Linked DNA regions of Homo sapiens: region 1 is linked to region 2. The links are contacts of gene promoters, found by promoter capture Hi-C in blood cells and fetal thymus (Javierre and others, 2016). All regions are on one chromosome and are shown on one strand. The core of a region is centred on a gene start or on the middle of the fragment in contact, and the rest is flanking DNA. Distances in the headings are between cores, read along the strand shown. Region 1 overlaps ZNF207 (zinc finger protein 207). Region 2 holds the start of RHBDL3 (rhomboid like 3).

What was found. Contacts are between HindIII fragments. The CHiCAGO score rates a contact against its expected background, and 5 or more counts as called.
Region 1: a fragment that was not itself captured here is called in contact with the fragment with the promoter of RHBDL3 in region 2 in 1 of 17 cell types (M1 macrophages); the score reaches 5.4 in M1 macrophages.

The regions. Positions count from the first base shown.
Region 1 is chr17:32,371,214-32,373,961 of GRCh38, forward strand. ZNF207 (zinc finger protein 207) reads left to right here. Exons shown (of 12, transcript NM_001098507.2): 12 at 1-2,748. Among named protein-coding and RNA genes, the nearest start is that of ZNF207, 22 kb to the left of the region's middle. The HindIII fragment of the contact is 256 bases long and covers 1,221-1,476 here.
Region 2 is chr17:32,264,215-32,267,229 of GRCh38, forward strand. It overlaps RHBDL3 (rhomboid like 3), which reads left to right and starts at 1,618. Exons shown (of 9, transcript NM_138328.3): 1 at 1,618-2,086. The coding sequence starts at 1,976. It overlaps LOC105371731 (a long non-coding RNA gene), which reads right to left and starts at 1,237. Exons shown (of 3, transcript XR_934665.2): 1 at 1,051-1,237; 2 at 532-682. The HindIII fragment of the contact is 5,065 bases long and covers 1-3,015 here.

The sequences.
Region 1 (2,748 bases), core at 99-2,598, 110 kb after region 2:
AGTTTTTCTCATTATAAAGTTAAGACTTCTAAGAAAATGGTAACATTTCTTTATAACTTTCCTGTGAAGGTATAGATAAAACACATGAAGTCTGAAGTTGTATGGAAAAAAGGGCTTTAACTTTGAAGGAAAATATATTGAAAAGTGATTTAGCCATCACAAAAGAGTTCGTATTTATGTGACAGATGAAAGTCATACCTTTAAGCAAAACATTGCAAGTATTATAAAGCTGAATGCTATTTTAACTCACATTGGCTGGGTGCAGTGGCTCACGCCTGTAATCCCAGCCCTCTGGAAGGCTGAGATGGGAGGATTGCTTGAGTCCAGGAGTTTGAGACCAGCCTGGCCAACATGGCAAAACCCCATCTGTACAAAACATTTAAAAATTAGCCAGGCGCGTTAGTGTGTGTCTGTGGTCCCAGCTGCTCAAGAGGCTGAGGAAGGAGGTTCTTCCTCCTTCCGAGGCTGCGGTGAGCTATGTTCACTCCAGCCTGGGCAACAGAGCGAGACTCTGTCAAAAAATAAATTAAAATATCTGATTATCTGGCTTCAATGATTTTGGCTCCTGTGCTTGTGGTACCATAGTGGTACAAAAATTTTCATAGTTTGAAAATAAAACAGGTATTTTGCCAGTAATGTATTTCTTTCTGCCAGCAGCCAAGTCCCAAACCACTTTCCCCTCTGAACCTCTGCTTACCTAAATGGTTTCAAAATTAATACATGCTGCTTTGATTTGGCAGCACACTTAATATACTGCTGAAGGAAAACTTGTGTTGAAAGTCTTTAAGATAAAAATGGTGTGATAGGCCGGGCGCAGTGGCTCACGCCTGTAATCCCAGCACTTTGGGAGGCCCAGGCGGGTGGATCATGAGGTCAGGAGATGGAGACCATCCTGGCTAACACGGTGAAACCCCGTTTCTACTAAAAATACAAAAAATTAGCTGGGCGTAGTTGCGGATGCCTGTAGTCCCAACTACTCTGGAGACCGAGGCAGGAGAATGGCGTGAACCCGGGAGGCATAGCTTGCAGTGAGCGGAGATCACACCACTGCACTCTAGCCTGGACGACAGATTGAGACTCCGTCTCAAAAAAAAAAAATGCTGTGATTAAATTTAGAATAATTAAGTAAGGGGTGCTCTCCCAAATTCTCAGGAATTTCATGTATACGGTTATTGACAAACTGCAATAGGGTTAGTAGACCTGTTTCAGAAATTATGTGAAGCTTTATTTGCATTTTATGCAAAGAAGGTTGATACTTTGTAGCAAGGTTTTTTGCTCTCTGTATAGGTCTGATGGGCAAAAATGGAACTTTTAAATATGGGATAGAATTCTAATTAAAAATTAATTGAAAGTGTTAGGCATTGGCAGATAAAACTTAAGCTCATGAGTTCCTGAGTTTGTAGCTATAGGCTCAGAGGTGGTGTACCCATTTAATATATTTGAAGTGTAATTTTTGCATGCATCCAAACGTAATTAAGCTTCTAGAAAATACCTTTTTTCTAAATGCTTCTGGGGTCCATAGTGTGGTTGAATTATGAGTGGAGCAAATTATATTCATATAATTAACTCTGACTCAACCTTCCTTAAGTAGTAGATGAAGTTGAGTCAAAGTGGATGCCAACTGCCCTCACAGAAGACAACTTTTGGGACTTGATAATTCAGGCAGGCATTGTGATTGTCATAATTAAGGAAGCTGTAAGGTTAGTAGGGCTGGCAACTTTGGCTCTACCTTACATCCACCCCTTTTAGAAAAACAAGAAAACATTTTGTCTGGCACTAGTTTCTGTTGTATAAGTTTTCATACTGTTTAACAAGACCACAGCAGGTAAGGATTAATTTTTGAGTGGCTGCTGGAATTACTTGATTTGAATACTTAGTATTTTAGTAGTGTCTCACACATTTGCCATTAGGTATGAATAAAATATTCCTACTGTACTCCTATTCCACTAAGTTACATTTTGAACTTAGACTCACCTTAATTAAACTTAATTAATTGGGGAGGGGGATTCCCCAACAAAAAGAAGTACGGGCTCAGAGTGGAATTGTAGTGGACAATAGTTAAAAACAAAGCTGCTCCTTTTGCTTGCTTGATCATTGGGATTTTTAAAAAAAAAAATTTTAATGCATGTCTTTTAAATTAATTGGGAACTGTTTTTCTAAAATTAAAATTTTCTTCTTCCTATAGCCCTGCCATAGGACAGGCTGAGGCTGAGTCTCAGTGTTGCCCTGTTCAGTCTGAGGCAAGTGGGATTTATTTTATTCCTTATAGGGGCTTTCACAGCTTTATGGCTGTTGGATATTTATGTCCCCAAACTTGCAGCAAGTTTGGTGAAGGCCCCTAAATTTAATTAAACTTAGGATTTTTATACTCTTTTGGCAGAGAAGGCTCTATATTAATATTCACGTTTGACTGTGGTGTTAATAAACATAAGTATTTCATATGCAATTTTATGTAATTTGCTGTGTGTTACATAATTAACAGCTTCAGTAAAGCTTGTGTTCCTATATTGAACTTCAATAAATTGACAAAATTTGATATTTTTGATTGGAGGCAAGAAATGTTTCATTCAAGTTTTTTACTTTCACTTCTAGGAAAATCTTACTGGTTTTATTTTCTCCATAAACTATTAAATTTAACCTCAAGGATAAGTTTAATCATTGGAAATGCCACTGGATACTGAAATGTGCCTTCTCTTTTTTGAGACGGAGTTTCACTCTTATCACCCAGGATGGAGTGCAGTGGTGCGA
Region 2 (3,015 bases), core at 368-2,867:
TTCCCCACGAAGGGATGACAGAGTTGGATATGTTGATAAGAGCTGTCCCTGGGCTGATGAAGAGGCAGCTCCCTGGGTAGCTGGTATCAGAACACTGTCCAGGGTGGCTGGGCATCCCAGCAGAGTGGCCAACCCTTTTCTGTGCCCTTCTCCTTCCAGTTCCCCTGGAACCAGACTTCCTGGCCCACTTCTCTAGTCCCAGAGATCTAAGTATAACAGAGCCAACACCCATACCGGTCATGCAAATGACAGCCTGGGATGCGGGAGGCAGCGACACAGACCCCAGGGCCCCAGCGGTCATTTGTCCTTCTGGGCTCCTCTTCACAAAGGAATCAGCCTCTCTTCTGTCCCCTGAAGGCTGTTTTCAAAATCACACCCCATGCAGACAGTTTTATTTACAAGGAAATCTTGGCAGGATCTTGACTTGTTAGTAGAGTAGGGATGGGGAGGAGGGTGGTGAGAAACAAAAATAGTTGAAATGATCACACTTTCTGAAACAGAGATGAAAATTGGTGTCTGTAGCAAACTCACCTAATTAGAATCAAGTGAATTCCCTTCTCGGTGTTTAAGGGGAGCAGTCATTGCTGGGTGATGGTCGCAGTTCGGATCCTGGGCACGGGGTTATGTCTTTGCTTTCTGAAGATGACTGCATTAGTTGCAGCTCTCACTAATGGAAAGGAGCCTGTTCCGTTTCCCAGAGGAAGGAAGAGGGCAAAGACTAGTGAGTGAGTGGGTGGTGGGAAGAGGAAAGCAAGAGGAGTGGAAGGGCACAGCCTTGGTGTGGGCTGGGGACTGACTGCGAGATGCCTCCTGGAGAAGCTCCTGAGCCTCTGGGGAGAGCTGGCCCCTGCCAGGCCGGCCACTAGCACCATTTACAGCCAGAGCCTCTGCTTCGGGAGATGGTCTCTCTTGGGGGCGCTTTCCTGCAGGGAAACAGCATCGATTGTTTTCTTTAAAAGATCCCCTACTCCGTTTTGGCTAACTTCCTTTCTGATTGCTTTAGTTTCTTTACCGTCCCTCTCCCCAGATGGGGCATTTCCCTGGGCTTACCTTTGTCCATGTGGTCAAATGAAGCCTGGGCATGGTCACTTAGCTCTGGGTGTAGGAAGGGCAAGATTTAGGCTTTGGGGCCCACGACCCCGCAATCTGACTTCTCCCATTTCTGGGCCTCCCGAGACCTCCCAGAATCTGAGACCGCAGTGAATAGGGCGTAAGGATAATGGGGCGGGAGGCAGGAATCCCGTCCTTACAACATCGCGCCCCCAATTCACTCCTAGTTAACCCTGACGTCGCCAACATAGTGTCTCCATCACATATCTGCCACCTCCAAGTGATGGTTAAGCCGATGGAAGAGCCAAGCCCGGGCCCGGAGTGCAGGCCGGTGGTGACCGGGCCGGGGACGGCGCAGTCCCCATCCCCGCCCCGGGCAGCGCCACCACTTCCTCGCCAGCCCCGCCGCAGCCCTCCCGCTCCCGGGCCGCGCCGCTCTGACCGACTGGGCCCGGGTGGCGGCGCCCGGGGTGGGGTGCGGGGCGGGGGCCGGCGTTCCCCGCGAGCAGCCCCGCCCCCGCCCGCGCGCCGCCCCCGAGGACTCCGCGGGGAGGAGGAGACTCGGGCGCAGAGCGGGGGCCGCGAGAAGCGGGAAGGGAGCGCGGGGAGCGGCGGGGCCGGGGCCGGCCCAAGGGCGCCCTCGCCTCGGAGCCGGGCGCGAGGGCCGGGGCGGAGGCGGAGGCCGGCGGGGCAGCTAGCGCAGTGAAGTTTGGCGGCGGAGGGGCCGGGCGTCCCGGGGTCGCGAGGAGGCGGCGGCGGCGCGGGGACCGGGGCCATGGGGGCGGGCGCGGGCTGCGGAGCGGGCGCGGAGGCGGCGCGGCGCGCACTGAGCCCCTGGAGCGGCGCGGCCGCCGCGGCGCAAAGTTAGCCCGGCGCCCCGGGACGAGCCCCGCAGCCGCCGCCGCCCCCGGACCCCGTCTCGGCCATGGGCGAGCACCCCAGCCCGGGCCCCGCGGTGGCCGCCTGCGCCGAGGCGGAGCGCATCGAGGAGCTGGAACCCGAGGCCGAGGAGCGGCTGCCCGCGGCGCCGGAGGACGTGAGTGCCCCCTCCCCGCCCGGCAAACTTTCTAGGGGGCGCCGGGGGGAAAAGCCGCCCCTGTCTCGCCCCACGCCGGGCAACTTGGAGGTTTCAGGGTGACGCGGGAGCGCCCCGGATTGGCCGGGTCCCCGCGGGCAGGAGGGGGCGGAGGGACCGGTCTCCCCGAAACGCGCGCGCACCGCTTCCCCCGCTCTGGTTCCCGCGGCTTCCCTGCGGGACACAGCACCGCCACTGCGCCGCGGACCTGTCACCGCCGGAGCCCCCTCCCCGCCGCTGGTGCAGTGCCCGGGACACGGCGTTTTCCCGCAGAGGCGGCCGCGTCACGGCGGTGACTCCCCCTCCCCTCACGCCCGCGACCTGCGAGCTCCCGGAGCTGGGGAAGGAGCGGACGCCGCAGAGTCCCCGTCCCTGGCCATGCAAGCCGGCCTGGCGACCCCTTCCTCCGCTCCCGGATTAGCTCCCGCCCGGCACCTGCCTTGCCGCGACACTGATTGAAATTCAAGCCGGCCCCCGCCTCTGACCCCGGCCGGAGCAGGGAGGCAAAGAGTGCTGGGAGCGGCTTTGCTCCTAGAAGGAGGCCCGGGAGTCCAAGACCGTGGCGGTGCCAGGGGACGGTCCCCTGGGCGAGGAGAGGGAGGGGCTGCCCCGAGGGCTTCCCCGCCGTCTGCTGCTCGGGTCTCCATCCCTCCGGTCCTGCGGGCCGGCCCTGCGAAGCCCTGGGAACTGGAGTTTCTTGGGTTAACCTCCCGGGGCTAACCTACACATAGGGGTGAAAAACCGGGCAGACACCCTGCCCTGCCCACTCCTCCCTCAGGGTGGGGAGATGGAAGTGAAACCAGGCCCCCAACCCACACAACGAAAGCGGGAAAGTCTGAATGGGGTTGGGGGGTAGTTTACGATCTTCTCTCTTTGGCGTCTGCGGTTAA